2 separate regions of the Homo sapiens genome follow, and region 2 is linked to region 1. Evidence: promoter capture Hi-C in 16 types of primary human blood cells and fetal thymus (Javierre and others, 2016). All regions are on one chromosome and are shown on one strand. The core of a region is centred on a gene start or on the middle of the fragment in contact, and the rest is flanking DNA. Distances in the headings are between cores, read along the strand shown.

The links. Contacts are between HindIII fragments. The CHiCAGO score rates a contact against its expected background, and 5 or more counts as called.
Region 2: a fragment that was not itself captured here is called in contact with the fragment with the promoter of ONECUT2 in region 1 in 1 of 17 cell types (erythroblasts); the score reaches 6.1 in erythroblasts.

What each region holds. Positions count from the first base shown.
Region 1 is chr18:57,433,029-57,440,382 of GRCh38, forward strand. It overlaps ONECUT2 (one cut homeobox 2), which reads left to right and starts at 2,346. Exons shown (of 2, transcript NM_004852.3): 1 at 2,346-3,916. The coding sequence starts at 2,689. RefSeq lists enhancers at 1,072-1,652, 1,653-2,232, 4,347-5,102, 5,859-6,614 and a silencer at 2,226-2,275. The HindIII fragment of the contact is 9,553 bases long and covers 1,962-7,354 here.
Region 2 is chr18:57,021,556-57,028,409 of GRCh38, forward strand. It overlaps WDR7 (WD repeat domain 7), which reads left to right. Exons shown (of 28, transcript NM_015285.3): 28 at 5,449-6,854. The coding sequence ends at 5,652. Among named protein-coding and RNA genes, the nearest start is that of WDR7-OT1, 15 kb to the right of the region's middle. The HindIII fragment of the contact is 1,194 bases long and covers 2,454-3,647 here.

The DNA.
Region 1 (7,354 bases), core at 1,096-3,595:
CAACTCACCTTTCTGCTCCCAGGCACACCGAAATATAATTCCCAAAAGCAGGTTTATCTCAGTGTCCTGGCAAATGAGTTTAACATTTTGAAAATTTATTTAAATGGCAATTTATATACCTAGGTTTCTGTATGGAGGAAGCATCAGCCTAGGGTAACTGGCCACTCCTTGAGACTGAAGCCAGCAGAGCAGCAGAGGCTACCTTAGCACTGGGGCATATCAGACCCACTACTTCCCAGTTCTGCTTCTCTCCTGCTGTATTTCAGTCCCTGTGCACTCATGGACCAAGAACAGGTTGCACTCTCGTGAACTTTTGCTCAACTCAGTATTATATTTCAAACATTAACTGACTCAAATCATCCCAAGTGTCCAGATGCCATATATAAGGTAGGGAGTGCGAAGAGAGACAGTAGGAGGGGGTGAGGAGGAGAGGAAAAACAGAGAAACCAAAATCTGAGTTATTTTACCTGGCTCCTGTTGTGACACTAGAGATGTGAGCAACCAGAAAAGTATGTCTGGCAAACCAGAGGATCTGCCGCTTTCTTACTCAGGCTTTGATAACACAGAGAAGACGCTATTTGAAAGAATAATTGGCAGCGTATTGGCCAGAGCTCAATGAAGTTGATCTATGAATAACGTCACTGTACATTCATGTGACAGGGTGGGGGTGGGGGTGTTGCTCTGAAGCAAGAAGAGAGAGGAGGGCGGCAGAAAAGGTCACTGAGACTAAGAACTGTTTTCCAAATGAATCAAACCTTTCTCTGGCACCAAGAAGGGACATACAGTATTCCGAGCTCTGCCCTTGTTTTCTTATCAAGTTTTCTCTAACAGCTGGAAGTGGTTGAAGGGGGCTGTCTTAAGGAGACCCCCTGCTCTTCTTTTGACAGCTGATCAAAAGAAAATAGGTCACGCTTCTCAAACTTATGTCCACCCTGTCCTTAATTACTGTCTCTTTAAACAAAGGCAACATCTGCGCAACCTCAGCTAGCTTGAATCTTCGGAGGCAAACAGAGCGCAACCTGCTTTGGAAGAATCTTGTTACGTTTAAGGCTTTATGCCGGGTGTTGGCCTCTCTGTCTTCAACTACCCCTCCACCCCGACTCGGACTGCAGAAATCTCCAACTCTCTGTCCCCCAGTTCCACTCCCACCTCCAGACCTGGGGTTGCCAAACAACGGAAATTCTAGGAAGACGTAGGTGCGGTTTTTAAAGCCTTGGCTTGTGAGCGTTCTCAGGCTGGCCGGGGCGCTGGTCTTTTCAGAAACAAGGTTTGAATATGCAGGTGTCAGCCAGGATTCCTTGTCGTCTGCCCACCGCCGTTTCTCTCCCGGGATTTGAGAGAAGCGGGAGTGTGTGTGTGTGTGTGTGTGTGTGTGTGTGCGCGTGTGTGTGTCTCGTGTTAGGAGAAAGGTCCGTGGTTGCCGTCTCAGCTGGTTTGCTTACTCTCTGCCCCCAGGAGAAGTTTGCTCACTTGGGACACCAGCGACCCTCCTCACCTCCACCTCACCGGTTCTACACTCTCCCCACTTCTTTCCAAGTCGCTGATGCAGAAAGCACTTGGTCACCTTGAAACGGCAGCTCCCGGAATTCTAGTTTTGTTTTGCAATCTAGCAGGGCTCTTCGGAAGCCTCATAACTGAGATTTATGGGCTCACCGGGTAATTAAATGATGTTATTGTGTTAACTTTGCATGCATTACTGCTGCCCGCGCCGCCCGTGGGCCGCCGGCCGGCCGCAGCTCGCTGGCGACGAGGGCACTACAGTTGCTCTGACCGCGTAGATTATGCATGTCCCGGCCTCGGGAATTTACCATGCATTAGAATACATTAGCGCCTGCATTTTAAAAGGCTAAACTATTGGCTCCCAGCTAGGGACTCTCGGTAAGTGGCTTGTTAGTGACGAGTGTTTGTCTATACTGGCACATAGCGGAGTCTTTTGCTCCCGGCTTACTCGCCTCCAGGAAAGCTTTGGGGTGAGGCGAAGGCGATTGAAGCAATGCCCCTTCCCCCAGATCGCAGCTGCTCAGGGGGGACACAGCACGGCATCTTTCACCGAATCTCTCTCGCTCGCTCGCACTCCAGCCTCCCTCTCCCCAGCGACCCCCCCACCTTCTCCTCCCTCCCTCTCCTTGACGTTTGATTCCAGTAGCAAAGGAGGTAAAAAAGGCACCGAGCCGTCAGCCAAACCTGAAAAGTGCGGCCCCGCCCCCTCCACAGCCACTGGTAGCTTCCCGTGGAAGGCCCGCCTCCCGGGGCAGCTGCGGCCTCGGAGTGGTTGCGCTTGGCGCCCGTCGGGCGTGGCCCCGCCCCAGGTCCGGGAGGGTAGGTTGGCTGCCCCGGCGAGCGGCAGAGCCCTTCTGGACAGCTCCCGCTCACCCAAACAGAAGACGTCGGCGCCGGAGCGGGCTCGGACATGGCGAGGCTGCGAGCCGGCCCGAGCGGCGGGGCCCGGTGATCCCTCCCTCCCTCCCCGTCCCCTCCCCTCTCCCGCACGCACGCCCCGTCCGCCCCCACCCCGCCCCCACCCCGGGCGAGCCCGCCCGCAGCCCGGGGCGCACACCCGCACGCGCACTCCTCTCCACTCACTCCCGCGCCCGCCCCCACTCCCGCAGCCGAGCCCCGCCACGCGCGCCTTGCCCGCCCGCCGGCCGCCCCCGCCGCCCCCGCCGCCCCCGGGCCCTGATGGACTGAATGAAGGCTGCCTACACCGCCTATCGATGCCTCACCAAAGACCTAGAAGGCTGCGCCATGAACCCGGAGCTGACAATGGAAAGTCTGGGCACTTTGCACGGGCCGGCCGGCGGCGGCAGTGGCGGGGGCGGCGGCGGGGGCGGCGGGGGCGGCGGCGGGGGCCCGGGCCATGAGCAGGAGCTGCTGGCCAGCCCCAGCCCCCACCACGCGGGCCGCGGCGCCGCTGGCTCGCTGCGGGGCCCTCCGCCGCCTCCAACCGCGCACCAGGAGCTGGGCACGGCGGCAGCGGCGGCAGCGGCGGCGTCGCGCTCGGCCATGGTCACCAGCATGGCCTCGATCCTGGACGGCGGCGACTACCGGCCCGAGCTCTCCATCCCGCTGCACCACGCCATGAGCATGTCCTGCGACTCGTCTCCGCCTGGCATGGGCATGAGCAACACCTACACCACGCTGACACCGCTCCAGCCGCTGCCACCCATCTCCACCGTGTCTGACAAGTTCCACCACCCTCACCCGCACCACCATCCGCACCACCACCACCACCACCACCACCAGCGCCTGTCCGGCAACGTCAGCGGCAGCTTCACCCTCATGCGCGACGAGCGCGGGCTCCCGGCCATGAACAACCTCTACAGTCCCTACAAGGAGATGCCCGGCATGAGCCAGAGCCTGTCCCCGCTGGCCGCCACGCCGCTGGGCAACGGGCTAGGCGGCCTCCACAACGCGCAGCAGAGTCTGCCCAACTACGGTCCGCCGGGCCACGACAAAATGCTCAGCCCCAACTTCGACGCGCACCACACTGCCATGCTGACCCGCGGTGAGCAACACCTGTCCCGCGGCCTGGGCACCCCACCTGCGGCCATGATGTCGCACCTGAACGGCCTGCACCACCCGGGCCACACTCAGTCTCACGGGCCGGTGCTGGCACCCAGTCGCGAGCGGCCACCCTCGTCCTCATCGGGCTCGCAGGTGGCCACGTCGGGCCAGCTGGAAGAAATCAACACCAAAGAGGTGGCCCAGCGCATCACAGCGGAGCTGAAGCGCTACAGTATCCCCCAGGCGATCTTTGCGCAGAGGGTGCTGTGCCGGTCTCAGGGGACTCTCTCCGACCTGCTCCGGAATCCAAAACCGTGGAGTAAACTCAAATCTGGCAGGGAGACCTTCCGCAGGATGTGGAAGTGGCTTCAGGAGCCCGAGTTCCAGCGCATGTCCGCCTTACGCCTGGCAGGTAAGGCCGGGGCTAGCCAGGGGCCAGGCTGCTGGGAAGAGGGCTCCGGGTCCGGTGCTTGTGGCCCAAGTCTGCGCGCCGAGTCACTTCTCTTGATTCTTTCCTTCTCTTTCCTATACACGTCCTCTTTCTTCTCGTTTTTATTTCTTCTTCCATTTTCTCTTTCTCTTCCGCTCTTCCCCTACTTTCCCTTCTCCCTTTTCTTTTTCTTTCTTACTCTCTCCTTGTCCCTGAGCTTTCATTGACCGACCCCCCCCCATTTCATTCGCCCTCCCCTCAATGTGCCAACCTTTGCCCTATTTCCGATCTTCCCAGGTACTGGGAGGCGGGATGGGGGTGTGCGTTTTCCTCTAGGAGCCCTGTCTTTCCAAGACCCACAGAAACCAGGACCTGCCCTTATTCAAAACCCCATGCACTTCAAGTCTCTTTTAGACAACACATTTCAATTTTCCGGGCTGACTAGTCTCCCTGTGCAGAGGCAGTTGAGAGGCTTTGCTCTGCAGAGGGAAAAGAGCTCTCTACTCTCCCACCCACCATATAGGCAAACTTATTTGGTCATTGGCTGAAGGCACAGCCTTGCCCCCGCGGGGAACCGGCGGCCAGGATACAACAGCGCTCCTGGAGCCCATCTCTGGCCTTGGCGTTGGCGCAGGGACTTTCTGACCGGGCTTGAGGGGCTCGGGCCAGCTCCAATGTCACTACCTACAGCGAGGGCAGGGTGTAAGGTTGAGAAGGTCACATTCACCGCTTTGGGAGGACGTGGGAGAAGAGACTGAGGTGGAAAGCGCTTTGCCTTGCTCACCGGCCGTCCTTGCCCCGGTCCCAGCGTTTGCTGGGATTTGCCAGGATTTGCCGGGGCTCCGGGAGACCCTGAGCACTCGCAGGAAGAGGTGCTGAGAAATTAAAAATTCAGGTTAGTTAATGCATCCCTGCCGCCGGCTGCAGGCTCCGCCTTTGCATTAAGCGGGCGCTGATTGTGCGCGCCTGGCGACCGCGGGGAGGACTGGCGGCCCGCGGGAGGGGACGGGTAGAGGCGCGGGTTACATTGTTCTGGAGCCGGCTCGGCTCTTTGTGCCTCCTCTAGCGGCCAAGCTGCGAGGTACAGCCCTCTATTGTTCTAGGAGCACAGAAACCTCCTGTGTGGGCGGCGGGTGCGCGAGCTAGAGGGAAAGATGCAGTAGTTACTGCGACTGGCACGCAGTTGCGCGCTTTTGTGCGCACGGACCCCGCGCGGTGTGCGTGGCGACTGCGCTGCCCCTAGGAGCAAGCCACGGGCCCAGAGGGGCAAAATGTCCAGGTCCCCCGCTGGGAAGGACACACTATACCCTATGGCAAGCCAGGGTGGGCGACTTCCCATGGATCGGGTGGAGGGGGGTATCTTTCAGGATCGGCGGGCGGTCTAGGGGAACAATTCGTGGTGGCGATGATTTGCATAGCGCGGGTCTTGGGATGCGCGCGGTTCCGAGCCAGCCTCGCACAGCTCGCTTCCGGAGCTGCGAGCTCAGGTTTCCACCCCCGATCCCCCGGGCTTTCCTCGCACCGCTGAGCCCAGCTTGTGGGGTGCACTCGACCAACGCCCGACAGGGCTGGGGAATGTGACAGGCAGCAGGTTCACCCGGGCTTGGGGAGGGGGAGTTTCCGCTTTGACAGCATTTTCCTTTGCCGTCTGCTGGTGGATTCCTATTCCCAGTCGGTAATCGCCCCGCAGTGTTGATCTAAGAAGGTAAAGAAAACTAGGTTTCCCTGCAAAGAGCCTCCCCCAAATCGGCGGACTCCGGATACTTTGAGTGGATTTAGAAATTTATGTAATCTTTCTCCTTTAGTTTATTTTTCATCCTCTCCTACAGTTTTCTCTGATTTGCTGTTGGTTCGGGGCAAGATAAAGCAGCCAGTAGAGAGCGATAATAATAGCGGCGGGAAATGAACTGGAGACTGGCTGACAGTTCTTAACATTTTGTCATAGATCCCCCCGAATGTCCCAGGCTGTCTCTGGTGGGTTTTAGTACCCGCCGGCTTCTTGGGCACCGGGGACCAGAAGGAACTTGGCAGCTGGTCTTAGGGGTACAGTTAAAGGCAGGATGACAGCTATTCTCCTGCTCATCTCAGAGCGCTGCCGCCCCCTCATGCCGGTCGCGCAAAGAACACAGCTTTTAAAAAACACGTGCCTTCTGCCCATATAGGTCTGAAAGTGATGAGGAAAGTAATGCTTCGCCTATTAGCGAGTTTCAGCTTTTAAAATGATCCCAAGCGTTGCTGAGATGAGAAAGCGTGGCATCCCGGGGGTCCTCAGCCCCACCCGCGCCCATGGTGCAAGTCTGCAGGGACAGGCCCGGGACAGCACTGCCCACGCTGCTAGATTTTCCGCAGAGGATCGCTGAAGCTGCCTTCGTGGGAGACAGAATGCCTCCTCCAGCGAGTGGAAAAGGCCTGCTGAGGACCCCGCTTTGCTCGAGCATTCAAATGTGTGTCTGTTTTATTACCCTGGGTTGAAAAGGGACAAGAGCTTTAGCCTTTTTATCTGGCCATTTTATCAGCAACTACAAGTGTGTTGAGTGGTTATTATTACATAGGAGGCTTTTCAGTTTGGGGTCAGTAGATCAGTCTCTTCAGACACTGATGCAGAAGCTGGGACTGGTAAGTAGGTATTATGTGCTCGGAGCGCTAGGGGACAGGAGCAAATGGAGAAGAAAAGCGGAGGCTTTCTCCGCCCGGAGTATCGATCGGAATCCCCGCCGGTACGCCGCAGAGGGCCCTCGCCGTTGGGCCCCGGGGGTTTAACAAGCCCAGCCGCTCCGCAGGCGGCTCGGCCGGACTCTCAGACCGGTGCCTGGAAGACACCGTCCCTGCCCCCCTCCCGCCAAACCTGCCTCTTCTCTTTCTCTCATAGGTTATAGGTTCCCTTTCTCTCTCATTTTGGCCCCGCCCCCGGGTCCTGCCAAACAGCCAAGCAGGCCGGGGTTTAGGGGGCTCAGAATGAAGAGGTCTGATTTGGCCAGCGCCGGCAAAGCTCACCCTTAGGCGAGGTCACAACAGAGGCAGGTCCTTCCTGCCCAGCCTGCCGGTGTAGTCACAGCCAAGGGTGGCACTTGAAAGGAAAAGGGAGAAAACTTCGGAGAAATTTAGATTGCCCCAACGTTAGATTTCAGAGAAATTGACTCCAAATGCACGGATTCGTTCGGAAAGGGCGGCTAAGTGGCAGGTGGTTGCAACCCCGCCCGGTCGGGCCTTCGCAGAGGTTCCCCAAGACCAGCCCTTGCAGGGCGGTTTTCAGCAACCTGACAAGAGGCGGCCAAGACAAATTTCTGCGGGTTCGAGCACACACTCTCGGGCGTTGGGCCCCAGAGACCTCTAAACCAAGCACAAACAAGAAGGGAGTGAGAGAACCCAGGCTAGAACTTGCACGGGCATCCCACTGAGGAAAAGCGAGGCCTCGGTGGC
Region 2 (6,854 bases), core at 1,801-4,300, 410 kb before region 1:
TAAGCAGTTCATGAGAATGCCTATGTTTAGTTCTGAATAAAATGAACATTAATTTTGAGCAACTAATTTTGGCAATAGAATATGTTTGATCCTCACTGCTTAATTTCTATCCCATCTTCTTTTTAATTACCTTACTCTTTTAGTCCTGAAAATTACCAAGAAATTAAACACCCCCAAAAAAGTTAATTTAAAATTTTGTTGTTACCTTTATTTTCTTAGAATGCCAGTATGTTTTATGAGATTCAGTTTATTGCTTTGAAATCTAAAACAAAACAAAATAAAAGTTTAAACAAGGCTTCAGCATAACTGGGTGATAGTTGGAAAAAATCAATAGGTAATAAAATGTAAAATGGATACAATAAATTACTTAAGTAACAACGTGCTATTAAAGCATGACAACTTCAAAATCTGTCAGACTTCTTCTACTTTTATCTAATTTAGTTTTCCAGTTTATTTTCTCATTAGCCTTTCTTCCAGAATATATCTCCAGCATCTTAATTCGCTCATATTAAACTCCCTTTATCAGAGATCTCACCCAGCCCTCATTTTCCCAGTGAGTATCCACAGCACTGGTGTTTTCCACTCCTGAAATTCCACAGTGATTCCATTAGGTGTCCAGAAACTGGGCTTTTGCAGCAGTGGTTCTTTAAGGATTTTACCTACTGATTTTTTTGGGGTCCCCCCCGCCGCCACTCGTGTCTAACTCAATGGCCTCTGTTATGTCAGCTGTACCTTCATACAAATTTTCTTTTATTTCCTGTTCTCTTGGGATCTTGGAGGAATATTTATATAAAGCTCCACTCATTCCACATTTATTGGATGTCTGAGTGGTAGGTACTGGCCTGTGCATTAGAGACACAGAGATCAGTAAGTCATGGGTCCGTGCTTGCCAGAAACCTGTGTTCTGTCCAGGGTTTCTTCTTTGGAATAAACAAACAAAACATCTCTTTTTTCCAACTTTCTTTCTGCTAAGAAAACATAATTTCTTATATAAGAAATACCTCACATATTAGCCAGATTTGAAACTTTTCCCAGTATTTTCAGGAGTATTTTAAATGAAATTTTCTAAATGTTAAATTATCTTTTTCCCCTAAGATCTTCAAGGTTTTATTTGGATATGCTCATCCCTTCCTTGAATATTTTTCTATTTATATCAAAATTACTGCCCAGGTCACTGATGGGATTATGGGTAACATCCTTTTCACTTAGAGACCAAGCTCGTTTATTAGATGGCTTCCTTTTCAGGTAACATCTTTTTGTCTTCCAGTTCCTCTCTGAAGCCTCCTGCTGTTGACTCTGGGCTTTGCCAAGCGCACTCACATCTGTGTGCCTGGACACGTGGCTTTGCACACAGTGGGGCTGCAGTACATGTCCTTAATCCACAAGCTCACCTACTCCAAGGGCTGCTTCCTGTTATTTGCACATGCCAAAGCCAAAGCAGCCCAGGCAACACCCAGGTCATTCTTGCCTCTAAAACCAATGTCGGAATTTAACATACAGCCCATTTCTTCATGTTTATGTTGTACCAAACTCAGTCTTGAAATTTTAATGGAAGATACAAAAACAAGTCCTTTCAGCTTTCTCAGGAAAATGCAATGAAATCTCTTCCAGAATTGTAGTTGTCTTATTTGAATTAAGAGTCCAAAAAACAGTATTAGATCTACTGCTGCTCTCCCCAAATGGGCTTTGCTGATTTATTTAGATACATGTTGTTTCGTTGTAATGATGTATCAGAATACTTTTATATTATTCCAGTAAGTGTACTGTAATATATTTTGAAAAGTTAATGAAGTCTTATTAATACAGAGCCTTACTAAAGCTATCAGCTATTAAAATCTTTGCTGAGAAATGAGTGTTAATGAGAAATATTGGTTGGATAATTACTCAAGTGAGACTTAGTAAGGTCTGTGTGCAGCATTACTTACATTGGGAATAGCATTAAAACATTTCCTGTTGTGATGAATTATAGCTGTGTTTCTGTGTGTTCAGAAAATAATCTTCAAAGAACCAGTTTTGTGAAGCGTTTATTTTTGAAGGGAAGAAAAAAGCCAAAGTTACACTTGAGTGAATTTACATTCTCATCTATCAAATGATGTAATTTGGCAGTCTTTCAAGCCCTTTGATTTTCTAACCCCGTTTTCTACAATTTGAATATTTCACTTCTCTGTATCCATTGGCATTTGAGCAAGAGGAGGAGTTTAGTAATGAAATACAGTCACAATTCTCTCACCCAAATCTTACCACCACTGTCCAGCAAATATCCTTTTTCAGAAATGCTGATAATAAATTAGGTAGATACTGGTTTCGTTTATTTTTATTTACTCCATTGTATAGTAGAATACTATTCAGCCATTTAAAAGGAATAATGTAAATTTGTAGTCATTAACAAGAGAAGACTGCCATCAGCATTTTGTTGAACAAAAAGGCAAATTATGAAACTACATTTTAATATAAGCTTGTTTATATAAAATTTATTAACTCTGCTTCTCTTCATCTTTATGTATATGTGGAGGTCTGGAAGGTTGTTTACCAAAATTTTAACAGTGACTGTCTTTGGGAAAAGATATTTCAGGGGTTTTTTGCTTTCCTTTTTGTACTTTTCTTTATTATTTGAATTTTCCACAATGAGTATTTACTATCTTTGCAATCAGGAAAAAGTGAATGTTACCAAATCTCATAATTCCACATAGTTTGCATTCATTCAAGGCTCAAGATGTCCTTACTCGAGCATCGTTTGTATCCAGTCGCTGTTCAAGAAAACATTAATATTGAAAAAATTGTTAGTTGTTTCAGAGAGAGTCATTTGTCTGAGTTTATTGGAAAAATTAATACCGTTACTATAATACTTCACATTCATGCCGAATTTGAAGAGGTCATAGGGAAAGGATGATCTTGAGCAATGCATTTTAGTGAACATGGGGGTCTTTATCGTTCCACATGTTATGTCCCTTACAGGATTTCACATATCCCTATTCTCAGACAGGAATAGGGATATGTGAGCTATGATAGTTATGTCCCTTATAGAATTTCACATATCCCTATTCTCAGGCAGGAATAGGGATATGTGAGCTATGATAGTTATGTCCCTTATAGAATTTCACATATCCCTATTCTCAGACAGGAATAGGGATATGTGAACTATGATAGTTATGTCCCTTACAGGATTTCACATATCCCTATTCTCAGACAGGAATAGGGATATGTGAGCTATGATAGTTATGTCCCTTATAGAATTTCACATATCCCTATTCTCAGACAGGAATAGGGATATGTGAGCTATGATAGTTATGTCCCTTACAGGATTTCACATATCCCTATTCTCAGGCAGGAATAGGGATATGTGAACTATGATAGTTATGTCCCTTATAGAATTTCACAAATCCCTATTCTCAGGCAGGAAGGCTATTTGACCTGACCAAAGGCATTTATCAAAGTAGGGATGGCTCAGGTTATAAGAGGAACCCAGTTGTAATGGCCTTTTCTAAAATCTTTACATCTAGAGTATTCCCATGAGATATTCTCTCCCTTTTCATGTTTAGCTCTCAACCCATTTTTTGTTCCTGGCTAAATTTGAAGAGAGGAATTAAAAATAAGGAAGTGTCTGAGCATTATATGCCCCTTGCATTTTGAATTACCAGCAGAAGTCAAGCTTCATACATATATTCATAGAAAATCCATAAAGAATGAAAAATACCTTGTAGTTATTTATCAACTGAGAAATTAGATTTTTTCTAAAACACACTACGCCTGTTGATGCCAGTTAATGTTAACCAGCAATCTTCTGTGTCATTTGGATCTATCAAATTAAGCTCATCATCATTATTTATATTTTAACTATTTGGGAACATCCAAGAAAGCAATAAGGCATTGATTTTTATCTTCTGTGAAGTTTTTGGGAAAAGGAGAGAAGGAAGCAAAGAAACACGCTTCTGAAAGGGTGACAGTAAGGAACTGCCTGGCTGGAAACAGGAACCGAACTTTAACAGAAAGAGTTAACAATAACCATACATTTGGTTTTAAAATGTGACCTCGTACACTAGTGATTTTTTTTCACCTCTGTGTTGTGTTCAGCGCTATTATTAATGCAGGAAAATCAGTAACATTAGTCATCTTAAAAGGGTTATTACTCAAGATGATTTAAATTGTGAAAATGTCAGTGGAGCCTGCACACACTCTGCTAGAGATGCCATGATTTACGCCCTCTGACACCATCCTGCTGCTGAGAAGGGCTAGAAAAAGGAATGGCTTGTGTTTTGCACTGATCCACATGCAGGGGATGATGTCAGTGATAACGCATCTTAAATGTCCTAGGATTTGCCAGAGTTTCATGGATCAACCATTTGTAGATGTTGGATCATAATCTGCATGCTTCATGCAAATCTCTAGAATCTTACATCGAGATGGAGGTTATACTGGAGAGAAGCATTGGAAATGAAAATTAGTACAAAGAAAAAGTGTTATTTCCAAGGCTTCTTTCCAGATTTTCAGTATTCTTTCCATGTGATATTATAATAGCACACATAATGCTATTGAAGATATTTTAAGTAATATTTAGAATCTAAAGAAATCTTCAGACTCAGTTGCTTAGGAAACAGTTCACTTAGACAGCTACCATTCAGTATTTAGTACTTCAACCTGAATGCATAGTTGTTCATGATTCATAATTTCCATGTTGTTTTTCATTTATGTGGCTGGATTAAGAAAACCTAAAATTTAAATCCAGAAAAACTGCCAAAAAGCAGAAGTTATCAATTGATAAAAAGGTATTGTCAATAAAATATTAACAGCAGACTCTCCTTAGTATGATAGCAAAACAGTGAGGCACAGACATAGTGTTGAGATGAAATTGATTCTGGTTCTGCACTTTATAATAAGCAAGAGCTTTCCAGAAAGCGAGTTTTTAAAAAGCAAGTGAAGAGTGAAGGTATTAGTAGGTGGGAAATGGGGGTGGAAGGGAGTCTTGAGCTTTATTTGATCCAATTGTCACTCTATCTACTGCTTAACTTTGCTTCCTTTTCTTGAACTAATTACAAATCCCAAAACTTGTCTTCGCTGACTCATCCTTCAGGGAGTGAGTGCAGTTAGCATTGTGGTAAAGAACATGAAAGTCTTCAGTTTTAAATATCCACAATTTCCAAATATCTGTGTTGTCTAAATGAACCATTTTATTAAGAGGTATAATTTAGCCCTCTTCCTAAAGATCCATGGACTCTCCTTTTGTCAGGTTCTACCCCTATAAAATTCCTCTAGATTTCTGCATTTACCATAACAGCATCGGAACAATTCCAAGCACACTGAAAGGAACTTTTGAGAGGTTAAGAACAAGCTTAGGTGAAGGAGAATAACCATGATGGAGGGGAAAGTAGCCAGGAGAGATCGACCCAGTCTCTGTGATAGGGAAAGGGAGAGGGCTGTTCAAGTGACACATGTGCTCTCCTGTCCCTCCAGATGAACACGTCACTGCTGGGAAGCATCGGCATGCTGAACTCGGCACCTCAGCTGCGCTGCATTAAAACCTACCAGGTGCCCCCTGTGCAGCCCGCGTCCCCCGGCTCCCACAATGCCCTCAAGCTGGCCCGGCTCATCTGGACTTCCAACCGCAACGTCATCCTCATGGCCCATGACGGGAAGGAGCACCGCTTCATGGTCTAATGCTGCTGCCTGCCGCCGTGACTGCGTTTTAGTTCTCTAAATTATCCAAGCCGATGTTGCTCTGTCCTTCCTCACACCAGATTGTTCCCAGGGGCCTGCCCACCCCAGTGCCATCCAGTGGCACGGCCGGGTCTTGTCACTTGTGCATGCTTCTCAGGGGCAGAACCCGCTCGTGCCATCTGTCGATTCAGAGGCACGCACACATGCTCTGCAGGATGTGGCCATCCTGTCACCAGGTAGTTTTTCCCTGCCAGAGATGGCAGGGGAAAGCCAGTGGTTCCTGGGAACGCTCTTGTTGCTTGGTGCAACAGAAGCACAAAAATCAATAAACACTGTGATTGCACTCCCAGCCCAGATCAGCATTTTTAGCCATCTCAACCGCACCTCTGAAGTGCTGCTTGAATCTGGCCGTTCTGACACTGGGTGTTGAGGTCATGTGGCAGTCCTCACGATTGAAATTATTGCCCTTTGAATTACCTAAAATATTGTTTACCAAAAAGATTCTGTGTTTACATGTTCTTTTCTTCTGGTGATTGCTAGGAAATTACTCAATCCAATTTCCTAGGGTTTAGCTACCACCTTCTTTATCAACAGCTAACCAATTTGAGATTCATGATTAATTATGTACACAAAAATATTTTCCTTGTAGAAAATAGTTTTCCAGACACTTAGCCTTCTGAAGTGCTCATCTCTTGCTTAAATGATAGTCTATTTAGTAGTTTAAAATAAAAATAATCACTCCCTATGATCTAGTTAATGTAATTATCCAGTCACTGTAACTAATCTCTTGAAGGGACTTTTGTGATAAAGAGCCAAGTTCAGAAGCATAGCGTGTACCGAAAATGAAGACTCTCCTATCTACTGCTACAGATCCTGTTGAAGAAAGAGCTTACCCCTTTCCCCCGGAAAACTTGCAATCCTGTAGTTCCCATATGTGTGGCATATGTCAGTTATGAAATTATTATAATTCAGCCTTCAAACTACTACTGATCAACTAAAGGAAAGCTAATAAGGTATTTCTTTTAAACAAGTATTCTGGAAAAGTAATAACTATGGCACAAATGTTCAGGAGTGTATATAAAAATATGTGGGCTCTCGATTTATTTGAGCAAACATTGCAATGAGGGTGTTCATTATGCTTCTAAGTAAGCTTTAACTAGACCACTTTCTTCTTATGTCAGATTGTGCTGGTTCTAGCTCAT